Regions from separate parts of the Homo sapiens genome. Here all the other regions are linked to region 3. Evidence: promoter capture Hi-C in 16 types of primary human blood cells and fetal thymus (Javierre and others, 2016). All regions are on one chromosome and are shown on one strand. The core of a region is centred on a gene start or on the middle of the fragment in contact, and the rest is flanking DNA. Distances in the headings are between cores, read along the strand shown.

Region 1 (3,680 bases), core at 1,116-3,615, 730 kb after region 3:
AGTGTATAGTTACCAAGAATGAATGGTCCTTCCACATACTCAGCGTCACACAAGGCATTCACCCTAAGAACCCACAGCACCAAGAGAGAATGCACTTTCTATAGTTTCTGCGGCAGCCAGAAGTGACTGCCACACTTAAAGCATCACTAAAGCCATTTGCTTTACATTTAAACAGGCAGCTTTCAGGATTCTATTTCACGATCTATTTTTATTACAAAAACATTTGCCTTGCCAAGTCTCCAAGTAAAAATCGCTGATTTCCTATTTATCATACAATTTCCCTTCAATGTAGTACCTGCTGTGCACGTGACCTACTTAGTATTTGAGAAGCAGGGACCCTCTGAGGTTCAGGATTAAAACCAGCCCTCTTAGACTTTGCTAACTTAAGGCTGTAATTCTTACAAGAGACCAACTGGTCACTGTTGAATTTAAAAAGAAAAAAAAATAGTCTGGGATTTGGGAATATTTGTCCTGGAGCTACTAGACATATGCAAGCAAATTTCTAAATATAAATTAACTTCCTACCTACCTCAGATAGGTTTCCAAAATATAAAGTTCAGATTCTTGCAACTTAATTATTTCATGGGGATTTTGTGCATAGAAAACAGTCACACATCCCTGAGTAAACAAGAGGCAGACTAATTTTGTTTGAGACAATTTTGCCCATTATACTATTAGAGATTAGACTATCCACCTCTATCCACTGTGCCTGACTTTGTATTTTCTTCTCTTTTTACACTATATTTAGTTAGAGACACACTCCTTACTCACTTAACACCCTTCTCTCCAGATTTTTTTTTTAGCCCACCTATAAAAATTAGAATCTCCAAATTACAGAAAGTTTCTATTTTTCCTTCACTAGTAACATTATCACTATTGCAAACACCATGGTTTTTGTATTACTGTTGGTGTGTTTTACTAGTATCTTCCAAGTGGGATGACATGGATGGAACTGTATAAACATCCCTGCCTCGCTTTTTCACCTGGAAGAGAGGTTGTAAGATTTCCTGTCCAATTGAAGTTTGCACTGCCAGAATATAAATGTAAAACAGGCAGTCATTTTGAGCACCTGAAATAGGTGTTAAAAGGTACTGTTAAGATCTATTTCTCACAAGCACACTTGTGTGTCTTTCATGCCAAAGTCAGAGTGGGAATGCAGTGAGTCCAGCGGCTGCAGGCTCAGCTGCCCATGGCTCAGCCGCCCAGGCAAATCAGGAACAGAGTCTTGTGCACGCTTGGCTGGAGACAGTTTGCACAAAGCAGGGACCTCTGGGGAAAGAAACCTCAGAGCTCTAAACTGTCTTTGGATGTGATGTCTCTCAGCTGGAAGGAACATATGGAGACCTGCTAGTGTGGGTCAAAGTGGTCACAGACCACAGTGGAGGGCTCTGGCATCGTGCATCCTAAGGATGGGGAACAGACAGTGGCAGAGGACAAAGATGCCTGATTTGTCCTCTCAGACAGAAATCAGTTGCCATTCAAGCTCCAGTCCCACTGCTAACTATTAGGGAGGCGGTCAGGATGGAAGGGGGCGGAGGAGATTGACTGAAGGCAAGTACGTACATTAAAATGCCCAGAAACATGTTTTCCATTCAGTGTTGGTGTCTGGCCAACAGGGAGACATGCAGGTACACTGAGAGTCCACGCCCAACACAGATGCCTATAGGGAGCTTCCTGTGGGAAGAGGGAAGCACAGGCAGGACCACCTCCAGAGGGTCCCGCAGCGTCCTGCATCTCTGGCTGCAGCCCAGTGCTGTGCACAGTTCAGAGAATGAGCTTTGGAGCTCAGACCCGCGAGCTCAGGTCCTGCCTCTGGCTCCCACTAACTCCCTGGTTTGGGGAAAGTGATTTAAGCCACTCCCAGCCTCCACTCACCCACCTGTAAAATGGGCTTCATAAAAATGTCGATGTTCTTAAGATTGTCTAATTAAAGGAAATAATTCATGTAAAGCACTTAGCAGAGTATAAAAAGAGCATAATATGTGGCTATTATTATATTAATTCTTCCTTAATAATCCTTTTATTCTCGTTTTTCTTTTGCATACACAGAACACTTAAACAATGTTATTCAGAAATTCAGGCGGCTTGGTTCTGAGAAGAGATAAGAAATAATATGTGCCTATAGAGACAGAGGAGGCATGAGGAGGGAGTTGAGAAATCACTAATCACTAAGTTTGCAAGAATCTGAGCCACTGACTTGCCTGCCTTTAGCAGCCATCAAGCCTGCAGGAGCTGCCGGAGATGGGTGACAAAGATGAACCTGTGAACATGTGTTACAGGGAGAGAGCTGCTATGGGAGAGTCAGGATACAAGGGAAGGGGAGGGAGGGAGCCATGGGGATACTGACGAAGAGCATTCCAGGCAGAGGGAATAGCCTGTGCCAGGGCTCGGGTGGGGCATGAGGGTGAGTTCATGGCTGGCATGGCACAAGCCAGAGGGGCTAGTGGGAACCTGCATCAGAGGAAAGGTGGACATGGATGGTGATCTCTGCCTAGCGCTGACAGGGGTCTCTAGACATCTTCCTGCAGGAGATTGGGTGGTGGGGCACAGGAGGGAGAGGAGCTGACTTGTTTGGGGTCTGATGAATCAGGGGTGATTACGGCCTAGGAACAGGAGGAGCAGCATCTATGCCAGGCCCTGTTCTGTTTGGTACTTTTAGCCATTACTTAAAGGCACAAAGGCCATGTTTGTCCACTTGACAGGCAAATATATACAACTTACTGGTCACCAGACTCAAGACTCAAAACAATCGCAAAAGGACTGCTCAAAACTGATGAATACTTTATAGGTACAAACTATGCGAGGGAAAAAAACTTCTCAAGTATAGACATGACTCCCCCACCCCGCGAGACAAGGTCTCACTCTGTTGCCCAGGCTGGAGTGCAGGGGTGTGATCACAGCTCACTGTAAACTCAAACTCCTGGGCTCAAGTAATCCTCCTGCCTCAGTCTCCCAAGTAGCTAGGACTACAGCTTCACAACACCACGCTCAGCTAATTTTTATTTTTTTGTAGAGACAGGGTCTCACTATGTTGCCAAGGGTGGCCTCGAACTCCTGGCCTCCAGGGATCCTCCTGCCTTGGCCTCCCAAAGCACTGAGCTTACAGGCATGGTCAACTGTGCCAAGCCAGGAAACCAGTCCAAATTTAAATAATGGTTCATATCCCAAAGGACAAGATAGAATAAGAGCCAAGAATGTTTGAGTTAATCACTTAAAGCAGAAACAGATTATGAAGATCAATCTGCATTAACAGAGCAGTGGCAGGTCAACGGAAGGAGCAACACACTGCCAGAGCCAGAGGCCAAGTGAACACCAAGTTCAACTCAGGACTCCAGGAGGGGCAGAGGCTCTTCGGAGGACAGGACTCGGACCAGGGGTTCCCAAACAGTGACGAGGGCAATTCCCCTGGAGAAGAGAGCTAAAGGAGGCAGCAGCTTCCATGGTCCTCTGTCATCTGAAGGGCAGGAAACAGATGCAAACACATTTCCGTGTGGCTTCAGAGACCAGAGAAGAAGCCAGGAATCAGAGGACAGGGAGGCAGGATGCGGCTCAGTCTGTGAATGCTCGTTTGAAAACTTGGAACTGTTCTATGATGGAGCAAGCAGTCATCTGTGGCCCCTAACGCATCCTGGCCACTGCACAAAGCATTTCCGAGCAGAAATTTCCAAGCGACCATGCCC
Region 2 (3,795 bases), core at 86-2,585, 820 kb after region 3:
CACCACTCACTTTCAGTAGAAAGAGCAAAACCACTAACATGTATAATGAATAGCAGCTCCTGGCCTAGGAAACTCACTAAGTCTTGGAATTCAGGAACCAGAGAGGAAACCCTGAAGCCTCTCAGGTGATCTGGATTGACACCAGACATCTGTGACTCTATCAAAGCTTTGTACAGAATTCAAGGCATGGACATAAAAGTGCTTTAAGTTGTAAGACATTAGCAGAATAAGATACGGGATTTCATGAACATTATTTAGCCATATAGACATTTTAAGATAATCAGTGTTAGTCCTAGCTGCAAATATGTTCCCTATTTTTTTTTAGCATTCCACAAAATTCTCATTCTTTTAATTATCTCCCTTTGCTGCTAGGACCTCCTTAAGGCTTTCATCTGGTTCACACTAGGCTGGGAAGAAAAGATGTAGAAGTTCTTGGCCTGGCCCTGGCCTTTTCTCCTTTATCCTTTGCTATTTCCTGTCTCCTGTTTCTCTACAGAAGTAAATCATGTTGACATATCCCCAAAGAGTACGGGCTGTAGTATGGAAGAAATATAGAAACAAGGGACAGCTGAGACAGATGCACATAAAGAGGAATATGACCCACTTTATATTTATGTATTTATTATGTTGTTAAACAAATAATGCTTTATTAATACAAGTACACACAAACTCCAAAGCACTAAGAAATTTAAATATCTATGTCATAGCAAACAGCTGGCAATTCAACATCCAGGGTCGACAGAATGCTTGAAGGAGACTGCAAACAGATTGCATTCCCATGGTGGAGAGGGCATTTTCACAGGTGAAGGGGGGCCCAGCTGAAACAGCTTTTCAAGCTCTCCCTCCTCATCAAGGATCATGAGAGGCACTCCACTCAAGGGGAGGTGTGCAATCTGGCGCTCTTCAGGCAGGTCAAAACTCTCAAAGTCTAGAAGATTGAAGGGAAAGAATTTTTCTATTTCTGGATAGGCGTCATCTGAGGCAGGAACAGAACTTTTTGTTTTAACAGTCTTCTCGGTCATCTTTTTGGCAGAAAAGCTTGGCTGTTTTTGTTTTCTGGGTCCATTGGTCTTTACTGACTTTTCTGTAGCTCTGTTGACAGTGCCCAAAGCCTTTCTGGTAGCTTTAGGTAAGGCTGATGGAGCATCGTATGTTTTGCCAAAACGTCGTGTTAAAACTTGAGATATCCCATCTAATGCTTTGATTGAAGGTCTAGACTCCAGCTTCAGCACATCCTTGGCAGCCACACGGGTGCCTGGTTCTCCAATTTCCTTATCAACGTAGATCAGAGTAGCCATTCTGGATTATTGCCGCTCTCAACAGCCACATTCATCTAAGACCGTGGTCCCACTTTATATTTAGATAGAATGTTAACTATAGTGGAAATTGGTGTAATATCTAATTTTTGTGCCTAGCACATCATCTGAGAGTTAGCATGAACTCATATAAAGAGCACAGGCCTGAGGTCAGACAAACCTGGGTAGGAATCTCGGGAGTACCACTTTCTGTTAGCTGTAAGATTTGGGCAAGTTAGCTAACATCCAAGCCCTATTTCCACATCCATAAAATGGAGGTAAAACCCAACTCTTACACATTGTTAAATGGTCAAAAACCACTTAGGTAAAGGGCAGAGCAACCAATAAATAAATAGTTTCTGCCGTTATTGCATTTTCTAATTTATAATGTACTTTTGCATACATTATTTCACTTCTTACTAACCTTTAATAAATGCAAGTCTTCCATTTTTTACTAAAGCAGCACCCCTGAAGTTTCTCTAAACTGCAAAATGCTCAAATGTTTCATCCCGAGTTATCCCTTTTGCCAACTCTGATCTACTGGTGGCAGACAATCCAGCATGCAGTGGTGGGGAGAGCCGAGAGGCCCTCTCTGAGCAACGTGACTACTAATGGTGCTTGCTTGGGCAGGAATACTGGACTATGGCAATGACTATATACCTTTGCCAACCCAACCCCAATCTAGTCCAGGCTATTGATTCACAGCAGCAAAGGGTCACTTCTGTTTCTAAGGCCTAGAGATAAGTTGAGGGCACTTTTGCAGTGAGCCATTTCAATTCAATGATAAATATTCTTGTTGTCTAATTCATTCTATGAATCTTTGACCCAGTGACATATGTGCGTACGTATTTGAGCCCATATGCAAAAATATACAGTTGAGTCTTGAACAATACAGGATTGAGTCGCATGGATCCACTTGTTCTCAGATTTTCTTCTGCGGCTGCCACCTCTGAGACTGCAAGACCAACCCCTCCTCTTCCTCCTCCTCCTCAGCCTATTCAACGTGAAGACAATGAGGGTGAAGACCTGTATGATGATCTATTTCTACTTAATGAATAATGCAATATGTTCTCTTCCTTATGATTTTTCTTAATAACATTTTCTTCAGCTTACTTTATTGTGAGAATACAGGATATAGTGCATAAAACATACGAAATATATGTTAGTCGACTGTGTTATTGGTGAGGTCAACGGAAGACTATCGGTTAAGCTTTTTGGGAGTCAAAGGTTATAGGTGGATTTTCGACTATGCAGGTGATTGGCGCCCCTAACCCTCACATTGTTCAAGGGTCAACTGTGCCTGTTTATTTGCATAAGGCCACCTCAAATACAAAGGGCCATTCAAAGGTATCATTAGAAGTCTTGCTCTTAACCTGACACAGCTAGCTAGAAAGTGACAGAGCCATGACTTGGACCTGGTATATCAACTGATTGATGTAACCTCTATATGGAGCTTGTAAATTCAAGTGCCACCCAGAGTCAGTGAGGGAATGTAAATATATGATGTGCCAGTGGAAGACAATGGGGAACGGGGAGACTGGTGGGGTAGAGTGTGTGTGCCAATCTGCAGGCATTCCAATTGAATTGTTTTTCTTCAAACACTATGGTAGGCAACTTTTACAATAAAGTTTGCAGGCCACCTGTCTGTAATCCTGTCTCATTATACCATTAGCAGGAATTATTATTAAACAACTTCTTTCAACTCTTCCGACACATTCATTTTTTATTAACAGCCTTCTAATAGTACTCTGAATTGGGGCAGAAATAATTAAAGTAAAAGATGTCATATATGTGTCCTAAAGAAGGGACAAATAAAGGAGGTCTAGAGGTGTGAAAGCAAATCTAATCCAGGAACACTTTCTGGAGGAGGTGGCATTTGAGCTAGGAGAGATGGAATGCTTAAGTAAGAGAAGGAGCTAGGAGAGACGGAATGCTTAAGTAAAAGAAGAGGAAATCTCCCCAGGCAAAAGAAACAACAATGAACAAAACAGAGGAAAGCATGGCTACGAGGAAAAATTAACTGTCCCATTTTGCTGGAAAATAGAGTACACCATCTTGGAACAAAAATAAAAAATATGAAGAATCATCTGGGACCAGATATGGTCAAGGTTCTTGATTGCCAAGCTAAGGAATCTGGTGTTTATTGGTTAGAGATGAAAATGGCCTGCTCAGAGAATGGGTTTTCTAGGAGATGAATCTGCTTTGTTGATCTTACAGACTCTTTCTTAATATGAAGCATACTTTTTTCCTAGACAACTTCAAATCTGAAAAATGTGTTACTATTCTTAGCATATGTTTTTGAAAGTAAACTTGGTCGCCATAAACGTATATGAGAAAAGGGGCATAAAAACTGGCAGCAAATCCAGTAACTGTAGCCATCTGTGTTTCTGTTGTTCTAAGCAGAGATCAACAAAAATAGCATTTTAAAAAACATATAAGTATGGTTGAAGTAATATTTTCCAGTGAAGCTTTCCACAAGTGGCTGCTGATAATTTTATCT
Region 3 (3,680 bases), core at 439-2,938:
GATGGTTTCGGGATGATTCAAGCACATTACATTTATTGTGCACTTTATTTCTATTATTATGACATTGTAATATATAATGAAATAATTATACAACTCACCATAATGTAGAATCAGTGGAAGCCCTGAGCCTGTTTTCCTGCAACTAGATGGTCCCATCTGACATGATGGGAAGCAGTGACAGATCATCAGACATTAGATTCTCATAAGGAGCACGCAACCTAGATCCCTCCCATATGCAGCTCACAGTAGGGTCCAAGCTCCTATGAGAATCTAATGCTGCCACTGATATGACAGGGTGTGGAGCTCAGGTGGTAATGCAAGCGATGGGGAGCGACTGTAAATACAGATGAAGCTTCATTTGCTTACCCACCACTCACCTCCTGCTGTGTGGCTCGGTTCCTAACAGGCCATGAACTGGTACCTGTCTGTGGCCCAGGGGTTGGGGACCACTGCTCTAGATAACTCCTTTCCACCCTCTTCCTGCCTGATTGCTGAAATTATGGAGTCACCATTCCTACTCCTGCCCATCATCACATGACTGCCCCACCCAACTGATGAAAGGGATAACCGACCTGCACCTTGAAGAAAAGCATCATCAAAGAGCTCTAAGATGCTGTGGAAAACCAGTATGGTAGTTCTGCAAAAAATTAAACAGAATGGTCATACGATCCGTGAATTCCACTTCTAGGTATAGACTCAAAAGAATGTTAAGTACCAACTTAAATAGATATTTGTGCACCACGTTCACAGCAGCATTATTCACAAGAGCCAAAAGGTGAAAACTACCCAAATGTCCATTGATGGATGAATGAATGAACAAAATGTGGGACGTACATACAACAAAATAGTATTCAGCCTTAAAAAAGGAAGGAAAGATTCTATTATTCTATGTAATAATAATAGAAATGATATGGATGAACCTTAAAGACATTATGCTCAATGAAATAAGCCAGTCACAAAAAACCAAATATGGTATAACTCCACGGACATGAGGTACCTAGAGTAGTCAAATTCACACAGACAGAAAGTAGAATTATAGTTTCCAGGGTCTGAGGGAAGGGGAAAATGGGAAATTATTTTTTAATGGCATAGAATTTCAGTTTGGGATGACGAAAAATCTTTGGAGATGGGCAGTGGTGGTGGTTGCACAACAGTGTGAATGTACTTAATTAATGCCACTAAATTGTACATTTAAAAATGCTTAAGGTCAGGCGCGGTGGCTCACACCGTAATCCTAGCACTTTGGGAGGCCGAGACAGGCAGATCACTTGAGCTCAGGAGTTCAAGACCAGCCTGGGCAACTGGCGAAACCCCGTCTCTACAAAAAATACAAAAAACTTAGCCAGGCCAGTTGGTGAGCGCCTGTAGTCCCAGACATTTGCGGGACTGAGAAGCCCAGCCTCTTGCGGGCTTTAGCGCAAGAGGTCAAGGCTGCAGTGAGCAGTGATCACACCACTGCACTCCAGCCTGGGTGACAAAGTGAGACCCTACCTCAAAAAAAATAAAAATAAAAATAAAAATAGAAAGATGGTGAGCATGATAACTCCTATGTTATGTGTATTTGACCACAATTTAAAAAAGTGCTAAGATTATAATGAATATATATAACATGCAATACCAGTAGCATGCAGAAGAGGGCGGATGGGGTTTAAGCTTTACAGAAAACCTCGATTCAATTCCCTCCTGCAGCCAATTCTGACCGTGTCAACGAATCATCCACGCACCTGCAGCTCTGCTGAGAGAGTGCAAGCCGTGGGGTAAGAACCTTAGCTTTGTTTGTTGTAACTCTCATTAAAAAGATATAAGGGCTGCATGGGTATTTTCTAAAAAGGAGATAATTTGAGCTAATATTGAGGGGAGGGAAGTAGGGTTATTTAGATTTTTAGTATTTACTATTTTGTCTAGATTAATGATTAGTGACCTTGGGGCTATTGATCTGAGGAATTTCTTGCAGATGCTTGAGAGCGTGGGTTTCTTTTCACTGATTGCGGATCAAACCTGGTCAGCTCTTCTATTCAGATTGAACGGTCCTATGCACTGTGGCAAGTTTTTTCTAGCTCTTATTTCCCCACAGCGTATGTTAACCTCTGCTGGATGAAACCTTTGGCTATTTAAGGCATATTTGTTGCTCCTTTACCCCGTTGAAAAGTTCTGCATTTGTGTTACCTGTTTAAAAGTAGGGGCAGATCTGATGGATCTTGTACAATGCAGTTCTTATTCCGTTTCCTTCAGAAGTGGACAAAGAGGGCCATATGTGGTTGCTGTAAAGAAGAGGATGGTTAACAACCTGTGAGCATTTGGTTTCTTGATAAGCTTTCTCCCAGACCACCTACACTGAGCTATTAATTAGGAATAGGATGCACTTCGAGTTTTATTTCAATTCTTGTGAACTTATAACTTTCCTAAGAATATATTTATACATGTAGGCAAAGTCTCTTGAACTTTGTGGCACCTAGCAGAGTGTCCCACAGCAGCTGCATGAAGCTTCATAGACAGGGGCATGGGGTGAGAAAGGAGGAAGTGGCCGCCATGGCAGCTGGTCAGATCAATGGATTCAACCTCAGTGATTCGGTCCTTAGGATGTCGTTACATCTTAAGCCACCTCATTTCAAGGTTTGAGGTGCCTTGCATTTGGGTTTAGTTACCATCCAGAAGGAACCAGACAGGTCTGGGTTCAAATCTCTGCTTCTTCAGTTGGTCATCTTGGGCAAGTTACTTTACCTCTGGGCTTTAGCTCCTCCATCTGTAAAATATGAATAATAATGGCCGCCATTTTGTTGAGTCATTGAGGGATTAAACAAGGTAATGGACATAAAACACTTAGCTCCATGTCAGACACGTAGGAAATACTGAAAAGAAGTCATTCTTACTCTTATGTTGCAAAGATCATTCAACATTCAATAGGTTCTTAATCTCTTTTCTATTTCTTTATATCATTGGGAAAAGATAAATTAGATGATTAAATATTCTTTGGTAAAACACTAGTTGTCATTTGATGATGTCTTTTGACTTGGACTTTTAAATTATAAGATATTAAAGATGTATTAAGGAAGGTCATTCTCTGTTTTTTACCTGCTTTTAACGTAGTAGTAGGGATATGATATTAACATATATATACTATTTATAGACTACATCACCAACATGGTGAAACCCCATCTCTACTAAAAATACAAAAATTAGCCGGGTGTGATGGCAGGTGCCTGTAATCCCAGCTACTCAGGAGGCTGCGGCAGGAGAATCGCTTGAACCTGGGAGGTGGAGCTTGCAGTGAGCTGAGATCATACCACTTTACTCCAGCCTGGGCAACAGAGCGAGACTCCATCTCAAAAAAAAAAAAAAGTGTATGTCCTACTTTTAAAATTGCTTTAATGAGGCCAAGCACAGTGGCTCACACCTCTAATCACACCCATTTGGGAGGCTGAGGTGGGAAGATTGCTGGAGGCCAGGAGTTTAAGAGCAGCCTTGGCAACATAGTGAGACCCTGTCTCTATGTAAAAGTTGTTTTTATAAAATGTCATAATGCATAAGTATTGCCTGAGAGATAGGACCTTTACTATTGTTATATTAAGAGAAGTTCAAAAAGAGTTCCTCTCCCATTGTAGTCCCAGATAAGACTGTGGTATTGGGCAGGGGGAAGAAGTGGGTAAGAGATAGAAACTCTGACTTCTCAGCGCAGAGTT
Region 4 (3,733 bases), core at 238-2,737, 740 kb after region 3:
ATGCCCAGGTGAAATGTTCCTCTGCTATTCCCTGGCTCTGTGGTCTTGGCCAGACTGTTACCTCCTGTCCCTTTCAGGTCCTCTACCTGCAGCCTGAAGACGTATAGTGAACTTTCCTCGCAGAGCTGTCATGAGGCTTAAATGAATGAATACAAATTAAAACACATATACCAAGGCCAGGTGCAGTGGCTGATGCCTGTAATCCCAGAACTTTGGGAGGCTGAGGCAGATGAATCACTTGAGGTCAGGAGTTCGAGACCAGCCTGGCCAACATGGTGAAACCCTGTCTCTATTAAAAATATAAAAATTAGCCAGGTGTGGTGGTGCACGCCTGTAATCCCAGCTACTTGGGAGGCTGAGGCAGGAGAATCGCTCGAACCCAGGAGGCAGAGATTGCAGTGAGCTGACATCGCACCACCGCACTCCAGCTTGGGTGACAGCGTGAGACTTGTCTCAAAAAATAAAAATAAAAAATGTAAACCAGACAATCAAAAAACATCAGATATCATGACTATTACCTACTCTATGAGCTTTTTTTGTTTGCTTGTTTTTTGGGATGGAGTCTCACTCTGTCACCCAGGCTGGAGTGCAGTGGTACGATCTTGGCTTACTGCAACCTCTACCTCCTGGGCTCAAGTGATTCTCATGCCTCAGCCTCCCGAGTAGCTGGGACTACAAGTGTGCGCCACCACATCTGGCTAATTTTTGTATTTTTTTTGTAGAGATGGGGTTTCGCCATGTTGACCAGGCTGTTCTCGAACTCCTGGCCTTAAATGATCCACCTGCCTTGGCCTCCCAAAGTGCTGGGATTACAGGCGTGAGCCACTGTGCCCAGCCTACTTTCTACTTTTAATGGGAACCACTGCAGACATCTTTGAAGCTTAATCACCACTACTTCCCCACACCTGGCCATATGCAGAAATATTTGGTGTTTATCCTATCAATTCATGTTTTCTGCTTTTATATGTATGTGTCCATAAAAGATATGTAGTTGAAACTAAATGAATGGTGTCATACTGTACACATCCTTCTGTAAATTAGCTTTCTTCTTTCAATATTATTTTTGAGATTTATTCCTGTTGACAAATTTTTTTTGATTCACTCACTTTAGTCAGAGTGCAAATATTCACTGCATAACCTAATTTATCTATGTTCCTATTGTTAAACACTTATTTGCTTTTTTTTCTTGCTCTTACAAAGGAGGCTGCAGTGACCTCTCTTATATAGAGCTCCTTATAGACTCATGTGAAATGTTTGGCAAGGGAAATAATGAGGAATGTCCTCACTGGGTCACAGGGACTGTGCCCCTTCAGACTACACCAGATATTATCAAGTTTCTCTTCCCTGAATGGTACAAATTCATGTTCCCAGTATCAGTATAGGAAAGTTCACCTTTATACGGTATTGTCACTTTTTAAAAATTTCTGCCAATCTAATGGGCATAAAATGTTCCTTGAATATGTCCTCCCCTCATTCTACTGCTGTTAGGTATTATTTTATTCAGTCATCTGCTGTTCGAAGACCTTATGTCTTCTTTGAATAATGAAATCCTAATTCACTAATGAATGCTACACATTTTTCAAAGCATAAAAGAGAAAGAATGGATTCTCATAAAAGCGACATTCAGCTTTGTCCAATTATCCATAATTGGACTCTCTATGAGAATGAGAATATGCATCAAAAGAATGGCTACTACCTTAGAAATTCCTTTGAGAAGGGGAACTATCATTTACCTTTGTGTTTCACACTATAGAGCGTACCCTGGACATGTAATATTGGCTTGTTCAAAATGAGTGAATGAGCAATGATCCCCAGGCAGGTCCACGGGAAATACACGCCTAAGGTAACAGACTCACTCAGCAAATAGTGACCAAGTGCCTGCTAAATGCTACGCGCCACAGGGAGGTGCACAGAATCTGTTGCAACCGGTTCTGTGCAATCACTGACCAAGTGTAAGTGCCTGTCCAGGCTCGAGGCAGCCTCCAGAGTGAAGGGAATTGCCCACAAAGGGCTCCCAGGGGCCTGCCTTCAACTCAACACCAGTTACAATGTTAAGAAAATGCAGAATTGCTTTCAAACTCATAATAAAGCTTTCATAAAAGTGAAGCAAGCTGAATTGTTTTGATATATAAAGAAAATATGAGCCAGGCGCAGTGGCTCACGCCTGTAATCCCAGCACTTTAGGAGGCCAAGGCAGGCGGATCACGAGGACAAGAGACGGAGAACATCCCATCCAACACAGTGAAACCCCGTCTCTACTAAATATACAAAAATTAGCTGGGCGTGGTGGCGCACGCCTATAGTCCCAGCTACTCAGGAGGCTGAGGCAGGAGAATCGCTTGAACCCGGGAGGCGGAGGTTGCAGTGAGCCAAGATTGTGCCGCTGCACTCTAGCCTGGCGACAGAGCGAGACTCTGTCTCCAACAAAAAAGAAAGAAAGAAAGAAAGAAAATATTAGCTAAAAGACTAAAGCAAGCAGCATCAGTTAGTAGATCCTAAGAGACAGAAGTGCATTTGTATGCATGTGTTTTTAAAGCAGGTCTGAAGAATCTCTGTGTACTTAATTCAATGTTTCTTCTGCTCTCCCCTACTATCAAAAAAGAGTCTTTTCCACGTCTATTGCCATAATTAAAATAAAATGTTTAAAAAATTGCATTTAAAAAATAATTCACATTTAGAAATGACTTGTTTCTTATTTATCTTAAAACAAGTATCTAGAAGTTTCTCCTTGGAAGATGACACTGGTTCTTAGACAATAATTTCTTTAAAAAAAAAAAACAGAGATGGGGGTCTCGCTATATTGACCAAGCTGGTCTCAAACTCCTGGCCTCAAACAATCCTCCCATCTCAGCCTCCCAAAGTGCTAGGATTACAGGCGTGAGCCACCGTGCCTGGCCCTCACAGACAATAATTTCTAATTTGGAGGCTCCACAGTGAATTCTATTGCAGTCATTATATTGCACATCCTTCAACAGATGGGGTAAACTCTAAGCATGAAAGTTTGGATTCAAGTATTCAAGCTTTAAATCCTGATGCTATACTGAAATTCTCAGTTCAGAACTCACCATCCCAGGCTGGCACAATGTATCTACCAGCAGCCTTATTCATAATCAAGCAGCTCAGAAGGAGAATGGAGAAAGAAACTCTTGACATTAATACCACAGAACAAAAAGGAACAAACTACTGATACAAGCAACTGATACATGCAACAACAAACTACTAATACATGCAACAATGTAGCATAACGTTTCTGATGAGTCTCAGAAACGTTATGCTAAGTGGAAGGAGCCAGAACTCAAAGAGTATGATGCCGGCCAGGCGCGGTGGCTCACACCTGTAATCCCAGCACTTTGGAAGGCCGAGGTGGGCAGATCACAAGGTCAGGAGATCGAGACCATCACGGCTAACACGGTGAAACCCCGTCTCTACTAAAAATATAAACAATTAGCTGGGAGTGGTGGCAGGCACCTGTAGTCCCAGCTACTCAGGAGGCTGAGGCAGGAGAATGGCGTGAACTTGGGAGGCGGGGCTTGCAGTGAGCCAAGATAGCGCCACTGCACTCCAGCCTGGGTGACAGAGTGAGACTCTGTCTCAAAAAAAAAAAAAAAAAAAAAAAAAAAAAAAGAGTATGATGCCATTTATAAGAAATTCCAGAACAGGCAAAACTAATCTAAGGTGAAAAAAATCAAAACAGTGGTTACCTGGGGGAAGGGGTAGTGAGGACTGACTAGAA
Region 5 (3,941 bases), core at 1,078-3,577, 670 kb after region 3:
AAGAAGGAATATGAATTCTTATAGTAAAGCAAAATGGGAAACTCTTTAAAGGTTCTTGTAGATAAAAGTGAATAATAAAAATCTAGTATTTGGGGGGAAAGGAAAAGAGAGAAGAAGGGTAAATGCTCACTTATATTAAAAAGCAAATTTTAGGATTTCTAGAATTTGGATATTTAAGATGTTTACCCAAAGCATGTCTGAAGTAGTATCAATGTCTTTGAACATTTCCCTTAAGATGCTCTCTAATCATAAAAACAAATTTTTTAAAGATCACATGTTTTTAAGCTGTCAAGTGATGCTTAAAAACATTTGATATATAATAACTATCATTTTTTTAGTAGCCTCCTCCTTTACAATAAAAAAAAGAACCTGAATTGTCAAAAATATCACTTTTATTCTGCAGTAGGGAAAACAAACTGTGCCCGAACTGACCATGCTCACAACATTCCACTCGGTTCCTGATGCGCACGTGGACAGCCCTATCCCTGCATATGAAGGCAGGTTGAAGGCTTTGTGTATGAACACTCACCTAACTTTGACAATGTTCTCAAAAAGTAAATCAAGAATATAAAGGCAGGTTTTACATGTGAACCACCCAAGGTTAACAGCGGGGGCACGGGAGTGGCAGTGGCTGTGACATGTGGGCTCAGGGGCAAGAGGCCTTCATGAAGTGTCAAGGCTGAGCGGGGAGAGCGAGCCATCCACACGGAGGTGTTACTCAAGGTCCTGACACTGGTCTCCAAGACAGTGACTTGGGAGAAAGTGTAGAGCCAAGGGCAGGGCAAGAAGAGAAAGGGGAGGAAGAGATGCCAAGGGAATCTAGAAAGGGCCCAGAGGCCCACAGTCAGCATCAGTCAATACTCACAACCCAGAGTGGCTGAGGAAGGCAATTCATGAGAAACATACACCTGTGGCTCCTCAGCCAAGTCCTCCAAATGTCTGCTCTAGGGAGACCCTCATGGTGAGCGATCGGATCTACACGGATCGGATCCACATCCCACAAGATGAAGGCATCTAGGGAAGCCCCGTGATTATCAGAAGTTAAGGAGGACTCCAAAGTCACAAAACCCACCCCTGACTAATCTTAGACTATCAAACAATACCCTGTTCTGGTAAGAGCTACAGGTATAAAAATAAGAATCACCACGGAGAGACAGGAAATGTTTCCCCTCTAATAAGAGAAGGCTGGTTCTGGCAAACAGATTTACTAATGCTCACCAAAGACTCTGGCTACGAATCCCAGCGGGAACTGTGAGGCAAACATGGTGAGGAACCAGGGGGCAGCGTAGAGGCTGGGGCCGATCTCGTGCTCCTCCAGGTGATTGTAGAGGTCTCTGTGGTAATCATGAAGCAACCTCGAGAGCTGGTACATCTGGATCTGCAGGAAGACAGCCACAAGGGCTGAGAATTAGGGATCTGCCACAGCAATAAAGTTATGCCTACTGCTCACAGGGTGGGTGTAAGAGAAGACTTACTAGAACTTTAAACATTCGATTTGGCTTGCGATCCACTGAGCTCAGCTACTAATTCATCCAACAAGTGCTTCCCAAGTGCCTGCTGGTGCCAGGCACTGGCTGGGTGTAGGCCCAGGACGCTAACGCTGGGTCTTCTACTGCCACTTCCTTTTTATTGTTCCCTTGTATTCCTCCACTAAGAAGATCTAAAAATCTGTCTTGTGCAAACATTTCATAAATTCTCTTACAAATACATACTCTTTGCACAACTCAAGCCTGGAGGAATTAGAAATAAGAAGCCAGTCTCTTTACTAAGACTGAATTAGGGGCATCTTATGATTCCATAGGAATCCATTGTACATGTTCACTCAGCAAGTTCCCTCTGGACCCCTGAAATTACTCAATAGGCAGGAGAAGCATAATTTCTTTTGGTGTATAATATATGGAATATCCAGATACCTGGCAAGTTAAAACAAGAAGACAAGTGTGCATCTTAAGATGAAATAAAAACTTTTTCCAACTAAAGTGGAACTCCAACTTCACAGAATGACATGATTCTGGCAGAAATCTCATGCCAGTTCCTAGTAGTGCCACCAAGAGTTACAGGCTCACAGAGGCCCGAGAGCCAGCCCAGATCTGAGCAGTGCCACGGCCTGAGCCTAAAGAAACAACAACCTACAGAGGGTCAGAATCCGCTAAGATCCACCAAGTTGGATATGTCCTATCTAAACTGAGAGAAAGAAAACAAAACCGTTTTCAGAGGCTCAGATAATATAATCCCATAAGCACCAGCTGTGGCTCTCCCATATCGAAGACTGTCTAATCAACCAAAGGCACCACCCCAAAAGAGTTGTGTGTTACATAAATTATAGAAAACTCAAAAATTCCACTGCCTGGTGACCACTGTCTTTAAAGTTAATAAAGGGAATGTAGGAAGAACCTCACAGTACATGTGGAAAGTGTTATGTGGTCAAAATCTTTCAGTGAATGAGTTCCTTCTATGATATTTGCATTCACGTGGTCCATGTTCACAGGTCAAGGTGAAAAGATTTTGAATCACATAATTTGGTGCTCTCAAAGCAAGTCCTTGGCTCTAATGTATTCCCTCCCAGGATACTCTCTAGAGCTCTGAAGGCATAGTATCTTACTGGTAGTAAATGAACATATCAACATGTGCTGCAACATTTAGGAATATTCCTGAAGCAGGATCCAGAGTTTTCCCTCTGACAGGCAGCAAGAGCAGCACGTGGTATTTGCAATACGCTACTGTGTTTGGTTTTCTCTGACAGAATTGTTCATTCAACAAATACTTATGGGGTGCCTACTTCAACCCACGCACTGTTTCAGAAACTAGGAACTCGGCTCCAAGACCCGTAAGATCCCTTCCCTCTCCTAAAGTTCACAGGCTATGAAAAATCAGAAAATAGACAGGGAGATGATTATGGAAACAAGATCATTTCTGGCAGTGGCTGTGTTGTGCAAAAGAAATCAGCCAGGATAACGTGACGCAGTGTGCCCAAGGTGGAAGTGGGGAACACAACATCAGGGTAGTCAGAATGAGCTTCTCCCAGGATGTGATATTTGAGCTGAACCTGAGATGACAAGGGTGGGGGTGAGGCAGAGGAAGAGCAGATGCAGAGGCTGGGAGGTAGGTCTGAGATCATCTGATGGCTGATGGGGGCAAGAGGGAAGGCCCTAGAGTCAGAGAGGCCTGGGTTTCCAGTCCAGCTCTGACACTTGCTAGCTGTGTGACTGGGCCCAATTTATAATCTCTTGGAGACTCAGTTTTCCAATCTACAAATTGAGACGATGAACAGTGTCTTCCTTAGAGGGAAGTGCAGATGAAGCGCTTGGAATAATGCCTAGCACAGAGTCCTTTATCAGCAGTGACAGCTATTACAATGTTACCTGACGGTGAAAAAGCTCCTGAGGCACATCTGGAGAGGGATAAGAAACATTCTTAGCATTTTGTTGTATTAAAGACATAAGGAACACTCTATACCTGTAAAATAATCATGTCTGGCCGATACTGTTTCCGCAGCCCCATGTCAAACATCAGAAACTTGAGCATTTTAAACGCCTCTTCCTCACTCATATGAAGAAGCAAAATGCCTGCTACAAAGCTGAGACCTTGGCAATATCCCACTTCCTGGTCTAGAAGTGAGTAGGCCTTCAAAATGTTGTAAAGCGATAGCTGTCCTGCTCCAAGCTGGGCAGAGAAGTATGGGTGTGTAGGAAAGGTTCGCCCTGTGAAAAGAATACATATTAGTTGTAATAATAAAAACAAAAAAAGAAAGCCTATTGAACCAGAAATCCAATGTGCTTCAGATTAAGCAGCAAAATCTTTAGAAGCTGGATCATAATATCAATCAGTCTTTGCCACTTCCTCTGCAAACGAAGTCCACCAGTTATTCCTGGAATAATGCTTTCAATTAAAAATCAGCAATTACTCATGGTTGTTTTATTTATTTTTTGGTGGAAGTACAG
Region 6 (3,671 bases), core at 339-2,838, 700 kb after region 3:
GGGTGGGGTTTTGGCCTTTCTTTGTCTGGCTGACTCTCCTCTGTCAATGCTCAGTTCCAAGGTCATGCCCTCGGAGACGGCTTCCTCCTGCTGCACCTGCCCCGAGGGACCCCAGACGCCTCCTCTGTGGCCTATAGCACCATGGCGCCCTGAGCACAGAAAACAAACACAAGAGAAGCTCCGAGAAGCAGGAGGCCAGGGAGCCTGGAGCGTCTCAGGGAAGACTGGGCAGAAAGGAGAGAAGTCAAAGAGGTCTGGGACAGCCTATGAGGGGCCAGCAACGAACACGCAGAGTGGAAGGAAACAAGCAGGCCCCGGGAGCCACGCAACTCTCGACCCAAGGGATTGGGACTCAGCTCCTTTAAAGAGTTTATTCTTAAATTATGCAAAACTATCATAAAACTTCACATATACTTCATATATAGATATCTGACACTTTCATATAACTTTCTACATATAAAACCTTATAAGAAACATATCATAAGGTGTTTATCCCTCCCCTACCTTCCTGTGACCAATCATGCATTCAATTCATCGCAGAACAGTGATGAAAGAAAACCAAGCTCCACCCCTAAGGAGACAGCTGAGCAGGCCAACTTCCAGGTCTGTGTGCCAAGGGGTCAAGGGCAGCCCATAAGGTGGCGAGAGTGCAGAGGGCGGCTGTGCAGGTCCAACCTCAGAAGAGATGATCCCAAGTGAGACGTTCGTCGGGGTGAGGAGGGGTGGGAGTGGGGAAAGGGGAAAGGTCCAGTGCTGAGTTCTGACACACGACTGGGAAGGAGATGCGGGGCAGTCCCACCTTGGCAAGTGTGGGAATTAAAAGAAAGCAGCATGATGAATTTGATGACTGCAAGTAGTTCCCCACGGGGCCCAGCGAAGGGACAGGGAGTGCCTGCAGATGCTAAGAGGTGGGTCAGGTCAGGTGGTCAGAAGGAAAAGGGCCTCCTGTGCTGGGCAAGGCCACCATCCTGACCACACTCTGAAGAAGAGGTGAAAAACAGCAGAGAGTGCATGGGCAGTAACCACATGGAGTTACCCTGACTGCTGCCCACACTTAACCCTGTGATCTCATCCACGTGGATTTTTTTTAAAAGATGTCAGACCACCCAACATTGGTCGTTTACATTGTTCACTCTGTGATTACAGCTGCTGGTCAAACCTACTCAGCTTGGACCTCACTGTGGGCACAGAGGTCAGGACATCTGACCACTCCCTCCAGCAGCACAGGGGTCACAGCTGACAGAACCTAGACCATGAGTTCAGTCTACGGGAGAAGTTCTCAAAATGTGGTCCCCACACGAGCTTCAGCCTCAACACCACCTGGGAGCTTGTTAGAAATGCAAATTCTTGGTCCCACCCCAAACCTACTGGATCAAAAACTCTGGGGTAGATCCAGCAACCTGGATTTGAACAATTGGGAAATTCTAATGCACACAAAAGGTTGAATCTCTGGCCTTTGGCGTTCAGCACTTTTTTAGCCACTTACTTTACATTACAGTTACCTTAATTGGATATTTCACGTTATGTGACACTAGGGAACAAAGGTACCTTTTAAATACATTGTTTTAAATTAATTAAGCAATGACTCTACCCATTATGGATGGATGACCTGACCATTAAATAGAGTTTTAAAATGTAATATAACTTGCTTTTTTTTTTTGAGATGGAGTCTCGCTCTTGTTGCCCAGGCTGGACTGCAATGGCACAATCTTGGCTCATTGCAACCTCCGCCTTCCAGGGTTCAAGTGATTCCCTTGCCTCAGCCTCCCAAGTAGCTGCAATTATGGGTGCACACCACCACACCTGGCTAATTTTTTTGTATTTTAAGTAGAGATGAGGTTTCACCACGTTGACCAAGTCAGGTGTCGAACTCCTGATCTCAGGTGATCTGCCCGCCTCGGCCTCCCAACGTGCTGGGATACAGGCATGAGCCACCACACCTGGCCATATCACCATGTTTTTCAAACACCAGTCAAGTCGCACTTTCATCTTTGTCAAAGGCAAAGTTCAAAGCCAAAGACTGAACTAAATACCATTTTCTTAAGAATGTATTAAGGGGCCGCTCCCTGCTAATCCAGATCAACAACCTACACTATTACAGCAATAACAAATTTCCTTCCAGAAAACTTCCAGATCTGAACATAGTCAGAGACAGACTGATGACTCACCTAACATAAACAGAAAAATATACTACTAAAAGCTAAGATCACGATTTCTCAACCCACATCATTTAGGCATCTACAGAAAAGCAGCTCATTACAACCCAGCTTTCAACCCCTCCACCGTGGGAGCCTCCCCTCCAGCCCTGGCCTCCTCAGCCCAGGGTACTCCGGGCTGTCACACCCTGCTGAGAAAGGTGGGCTCAGTATCTCAGGGCCTTTCTGCTTCTGTTTCTACTGAGACATGGTGAAAAGAAAAGCAAGCCAACTTCCTCACCCTCAAATCTCCCCTAACAAAGTGTTATGAGGGTCAAAACTAGACCTGGAAAGAGAAAAGTGGCTATGTTACAGAGAAACAGCTATTAAACTATACCCCGTGAAGCTCTGGTTGCAAAGTCCATGCAGGAAGCCAGGGAGTGGAGAATGGAGCTCGGGCTGCTCTAATAAAATCATAGGGACTGGGTGGCTTAAACAACACACATTTGTTTCTCACAGTTCTGGAGGGGAAGTCCAAGATCAGGGTGGCAGTACAAGTGTATTCTAGTGAGAGCCCTCTCTCTTCCTGACTTGCAGAGAGCTTCCTTCTTGCTGTATCCTCACAGGGTGAAGAGAGAGGAAGCTCTGGGGTCTCTACCTCTTTTTGGGATGACAGTAATCCCATTCATGAGGGCTTCACTCACACAATCTCATCTAAACTTAATCACCTCCCAAGGGCCTCCCTTCAAACACCATAACACTGTGCATTAGGGCTTCAACATAGGAATTTTGGGGGGACACAAATGTTCAGTCCATAGCAGGAGCAAATCTGATTCCAAGCTACCCCATCCCTAAAACAAAGCAGGTTTGATTTAACGTTTTACAGAGCCTCTGACAACTTCCCTTTTAAAAAAGTTCAATCTGTACCTAAGAAAAAAGGAATATGTTTAAAGCCCAGGAAACAAGGCTTTATTACGATGGAAAGGCATGGGATGGCCTTGAGCTGAGCCTCAATGGATTGGCACAATTCAGAATTTTTTTGAAGCGGGAGGGAAGGCCTGGGGGTGCCAGAAAGGGATTTGTTTGAGCAAAGTCACCAAGTACTCTGGCTCAGAGCTGTCCTTTCTTTTGAATTCACAGCACTTGCTTTCTATGTCATTAACGTGGCCACCGACCTGTGCTGCTGTGCGGCACCTTTCATCTTTGCTGTTCTTTAACTTTAAGCCAGGTCCTGGGATCGGACTTGAAAGTGGACTCTAGCGTCTGGTCTGCTTTCATCCCGCTTCCTCACCCAGACTTCTTCCTTGTCAACACAGGACAACCTGACCTACCCCATCGCAGGAAGCAGATTTAGAATACTACTTCCAACCCACCCCAGTTCCACTGCACCAACCCAGGGTGACGCATAACATGTGCTTCCGAGTCCCTGGATTATCATGGAGTGCAATGCCAGCACTTGACATAAAAGCCCAACATCTAATTAAAATCGCTTGAACATCCAGAAGACAAGGGAGAGGGGAAAAAAGGATGACGACG
Region 7 (3,480 bases), core at 981-3,480, 690 kb after region 3:
TGACAAAGCCCCCTTTATGGTTAGAGCTTCTGCAGTAAAAAGTGATGTGGCAAAGTCAGGCAACACATAAGGAAATTCCAGGTCAGCCTTAGCTCACTCCAGTATACAGAATGCTCAATCATCTGTGCCCAACTTTCACTACCCAGGGTCCAGATTCCTAGAGTATTTCTATTAGCCCCCACAAAATATGCCCAGTGAAAAACAAATATCCAGGTGCCAGGCTTCTAAGAAGCTCAAATATTTGGAATAGCTGTCACAGACCCATGCAATTTGCCTTTCGCAGAAGCAAAGACACCTGAAGGTGATCATCTAGGCAACTGTGAATGGGGGAAGAACAGACTCATTCTTTTCTCTGCTTTCTCCCTTTTCAAAACAGCAATTTGGGGTCATTTGGTGTAAAGGTAAACCTCAAGAAAAAGTACAGGTGCAAGGAATATTAGAACTCCAAGACAGCTCCAAGATCCTCTGCTCAGTGCAAGTCTCTCCTTCTATCAGTAAGGGGGCAAGAGCCCAGAAAGAGGGTACCTGCTAAAGTCACACTGAAAGCTGGTGTCCATCCAGAACTTCGGTCTTCACCACTGCATACGTGTTCTGAGATAAGCACCTGGAGATCCTGTTCAACAGGAGGCAGTGCAGTACGGTGGTGTGAACCCAGCTCTGTGGCCCTAAGCCACTATTCAACTGCTCTAAGCCCAAGTTTCCTTATCCATAGAAAGGGAAAATGCGTAACAAACAATAACTTCCCATGATTACTAAAATTGATGTCAAAATTCAGAAAAGGTTAAAAATGCCTAAAAAACTATAGTAAAAAACACTGCTTTGTTCCATTTATGCTCCTAGAGATGAAAAATGCATATGCAGGCCGGGTGCAGTGGCTCACATCTGTAATCCCAGCACTTTGGGAGGCCGAGGCAGGCAGATCACCTGAGGTCCAGAGTTCAAGACCAGCCTTGCCAACACAGTGAAAACCCGTCTCTAGTAAAAACACAAAAAATTGGCCGGGCACGGTGGCTCACACCTGTAATCCCAGCACTTTGGGAGGCCAAGGTGGGTGGATCATGAGGTCAGGAGATCGAGACCATCCTGGCTAACATAGTGAAACCCCATCTCTACTAAAAATACAAAAAAAATTTACCCGGGCATGGTGGCGGGCACCTGTAGTCCCAGCTACTCAGGAGGCTGAGGCAGGAGAATGGTGTGAACCCGGGAGGCAGAGCTTGCAGTGAGCTGAGATCACGCCACTGCATTCCAGCCTGGGCGACAGAGCAAGACTCTGTCTTAAAAAAAAAAAAAAAAACCCACAAAAAATTAGCCAGGCATGGTGCCGGGCGCCTGTAATCCCAGCTAGTCAGGAGGCTGAGGCAGGAGAATAGCTTAAACCTGGGAGGCAGGGGTTGCAGTGAGCTGAGATCGCGCCATTGCACTCCAGCCTGGGCAACAAGAGTGAAACTACATCTCAAAAAAGAAAAAGTGCATATACAACGTTTTCCCACTGCACAACTGATAAACTCAGGAAAAACCCATTCTATACATACTTGAAACCCTTATTCAGAACACCTGGTTATTCATGATGAGCTCAACCAGAACTCAGTAGCATAGAATCAGATTAGACTCAGGCTTTTACTCTTGCCAGAAGACATTAACATATATTTTTAAAGAAATCATTGTTTGACTAGAACACTAATAATGACTGAAGGTAAGCTTCAAAATAGCGGTTCTCAAACTATCTGTGAAGCATCAATTTTTTTTCTTTTTAAAAATTTTCCAATCTACTACAGGCTGATATTTTTATACGATACAGTAAAAATAAATTAGTAGAAAAACAAAATTTAAAAAAAAACAGATGGACAAAATATAAGTCCACATTTTTAATTAGGATCACTGTGTCACATTGCTGGAAACATTTCCAAAAGCTTAGTTTCAAGTTCTGTACTTATCTCTTCTTGGACCAGTAACAGTTTGGGCTGGCAGATCTCACTGAAAAAACAGTGAATCCTGCCCGCTCTCTAAGGCCTTACAGTATAGCAGACACATGCTGTGTGCTCCTCACAACATCCACTGTCAGCACCCACATCTTACACTTGTAGAAACTGGAGCTCAGAGAGGGTGAGGCATTTGTCTAAGATCACACTGCAAAGTAAGTGGCAGGCCTGAGATTTAAGCCCAAGACCACCTGTCTGAAGTCTGTGCTCCCCACACTATGTTGTCTCCCTAGAGTACCCAGAGACAAGCCATACAATTAGTTTCTAGTTTATAATTTAATTCAAAGTATATCATCAAATCATTATCTAGTTTATAGGCAACAAAACCCTTGGGTTTTTCTGTCTTCTTCCTATTTCCCGGCCTTCTGGGAATTTTAATTAAGAGGAATCATGAAAGGTGGTGAAACTCATGTCTATTAAGTAAGGTATATGGAAATAGATTAAGATGTGATGAAAAGAAGGGAGATGGCCACTAAAATTAGACTTGACTTTTTTTTAATTCCACACTTCTCCCCAATCACCAATGAGGGGTGAGGTTGACTAGATGCTTCCCAATGAAGCTTACCTTGCCCAACAGCCGAGTGCATTTTTTCCATGTCAAACTTAATTTTTGATCTTCCTGGAGTGCTAAGCATCTTTTCCCACACTGTAGTTACTTCTTTAAGACAGGGAGTAATTTCTTCATAATCGAGCTTCAGGCGCTTGTTCAGCAAATCATTTTCAGAGGCTGGAATAGACCATTCCAGAGCGCATTAGTAAAGGCTACAGCTATGGAATTTCCATTACACAACATGGCTGCCTACTTGTTATCCCGCTGAGACGTCAAGCAGTTACAACTGGCTTAACGCGTCTAAATATAAGTCACTGTCCATGCCTCTACCCATTTTCCTCATTTTGGAAAATGCTAAAAACCTAGGAGGTATGTGATTTCTCTTACCCCTTCACCCCCAACATACTCTGTTGGCTCTACTGCTAAGACATAATCCACATCTGCCCAATTCTTTCCATCTTACCCCTATCAAACTATGAGCCTCCCCAGGACAGGAGCTACGTGTTGTTAATAAAATTCCCAATGACTAGCATGGTTACAACTTGATGCAATTTTTTTCATCTAAACTAGGAGAGGCACTCCAAAGATCGTTTTCTTATTTAGAGCCAAACCTCCATTTGGTAGCTTCTACCATGGGTCCCATTTCTGCTTCTTGGAGTTAAACTGAATAAATCTACCCCTTTCAAATGACATCTCTCAAATATATGAAGAGAGCTACTGTTTCCCACCAAACTTACTCAACCTAAAGCTGCATGAAGAATTATAACTAAATTATCAAGCCCAGGGGGGAGTAATATCAATAAAGGGAAATGTTAAATTGACAATTTACATTGATTCCTGGACCCAACCTCTTATTTCATGGCCACAGAAACTGAAGTTCAGGAGGATCAGGTGATTTGGTGCTGGTTATTTACTAGCTAGAGGGAAGCCAAGTGACTCTAAGCCCAG

Evidence for each region. Contacts are between HindIII fragments. The CHiCAGO score rates a contact against its expected background, and 5 or more counts as called.
Region 1: a fragment that was not itself captured here is called in contact with the fragment with the promoter of TLR10 in region 3 in 16 of 17 cell types (total CD8 T cells, naive CD4 T cells, fetal thymus and 13 more); the score reaches 30.1 in total CD8 T cells.
Region 2: the fragment with the promoter of PTTG2 here is called in contact with the fragment with the promoter of TLR10 in region 3 in 5 of 17 cell types (total CD8 T cells, erythroblasts, M1 macrophages and 2 more); the score reaches 9.1 in total CD8 T cells.
Region 4: a fragment that was not itself captured here is called in contact with the fragment with the promoter of TLR10 in region 3 in 7 of 17 cell types (total CD8 T cells, erythroblasts, fetal thymus and 4 more); the score reaches 7.7 in total CD8 T cells.
Region 5: a fragment that was not itself captured here is called in contact with the fragment with the promoter of TLR10 in region 3 in 4 of 17 cell types (total CD8 T cells, M1 macrophages, fetal thymus and 1 more); the score reaches 5.7 in total CD8 T cells.
Region 6: a fragment that was not itself captured here is called in contact with the fragment with the promoter of TLR10 in region 3 in 13 of 17 cell types (fetal thymus, naive CD4 T cells, activated CD4 T cells and 10 more); the score reaches 8.7 in fetal thymus.
Region 7: a fragment that was not itself captured here is called in contact with the fragment with the promoter of TLR10 in region 3 in 11 of 17 cell types (naive CD4 T cells, naive CD8 T cells, total CD8 T cells and 8 more); the score reaches 11.5 in naive CD4 T cells.

Annotation. Positions count from the first base shown.
Region 1 is chr4:38,055,975-38,059,654 of GRCh38, reverse strand. All of the region lies in intron 14 of TBC1D1 (TBC1 domain family member 1), which reads right to left. LOC124900692 reads left to right here and starts at 3,506. Exons shown (of 2, transcript XM_047416508.1): 1 at 3,506-3,680. RefSeq lists an enhancer at 1,906-2,075. The HindIII fragment of the contact is 8,507 bases long and covers 1-3,680 here.
Region 2 is chr4:37,957,938-37,961,732 of GRCh38, reverse strand. PTTG2 (pituitary tumor-transforming 2) reads right to left here and starts at 1,335. Exons shown (of 1, transcript NM_006607.3): 1 at 605-1,335. The coding sequence starts at 1,298. The coding sequence ends at 723. All of the region lies in intron 2 of TBC1D1 (TBC1 domain family member 1), which reads right to left. The HindIII fragment of the contact is 1,467 bases long and covers 1,041-2,507 here.
Region 3 is chr4:38,780,998-38,784,677 of GRCh38, reverse strand. It overlaps TLR10 (toll like receptor 10), which reads left to right and starts at 1,688. Exons shown (of 4, transcript NM_030956.4): 1 at 1,688-1,757. RefSeq lists enhancers at 2,367-2,536, 2,599-2,808. The HindIII fragment of the contact is 660 bases long and covers 1,656-2,315 here.
Region 4 is chr4:38,038,996-38,042,728 of GRCh38, reverse strand. The region is part of intron 8 of TBC1D1 (TBC1 domain family member 1); the gene reads right to left. Among named protein-coding and RNA genes, the nearest start is that of PTTG2, 80 kb to the right of the region's middle. The HindIII fragment of the contact is 1,210 bases long and covers 883-2,092 here.
Region 5 is chr4:38,115,470-38,119,410 of GRCh38, reverse strand. TBC1D1 (TBC1 domain family member 1) reads right to left here. Exons shown (of 22, transcript NM_001396959.1): 18 at 3,457-3,701; 19 at 1,219-1,378. Among named protein-coding and RNA genes, the nearest start is that of PTTG2, 160 kb to the right of the region's middle. RefSeq lists enhancers at 919-1,088, 720-1,221. The HindIII fragment of the contact is 5,058 bases long and covers 1-3,941 here.
Region 6 is chr4:38,077,718-38,081,388 of GRCh38, reverse strand. All of the region lies in intron 14 of TBC1D1 (TBC1 domain family member 1), which reads right to left. Among named protein-coding and RNA genes, the nearest start is that of PTTG2, 120 kb to the right of the region's middle. RefSeq lists enhancers at 2,227-2,336, 2,437-2,606. The HindIII fragment of the contact is 4,572 bases long and covers 1-3,671 here.
Region 7 is chr4:38,095,158-38,098,637 of GRCh38, reverse strand. It overlaps TBC1D1 (TBC1 domain family member 1), which reads right to left. Exons shown (of 22, transcript NM_001396959.1): 16 at 2,548-2,709. Among named protein-coding and RNA genes, the nearest start is that of PTTG2, 140 kb to the right of the region's middle. The HindIII fragment of the contact is 629 bases long and covers 1,916-2,544 here.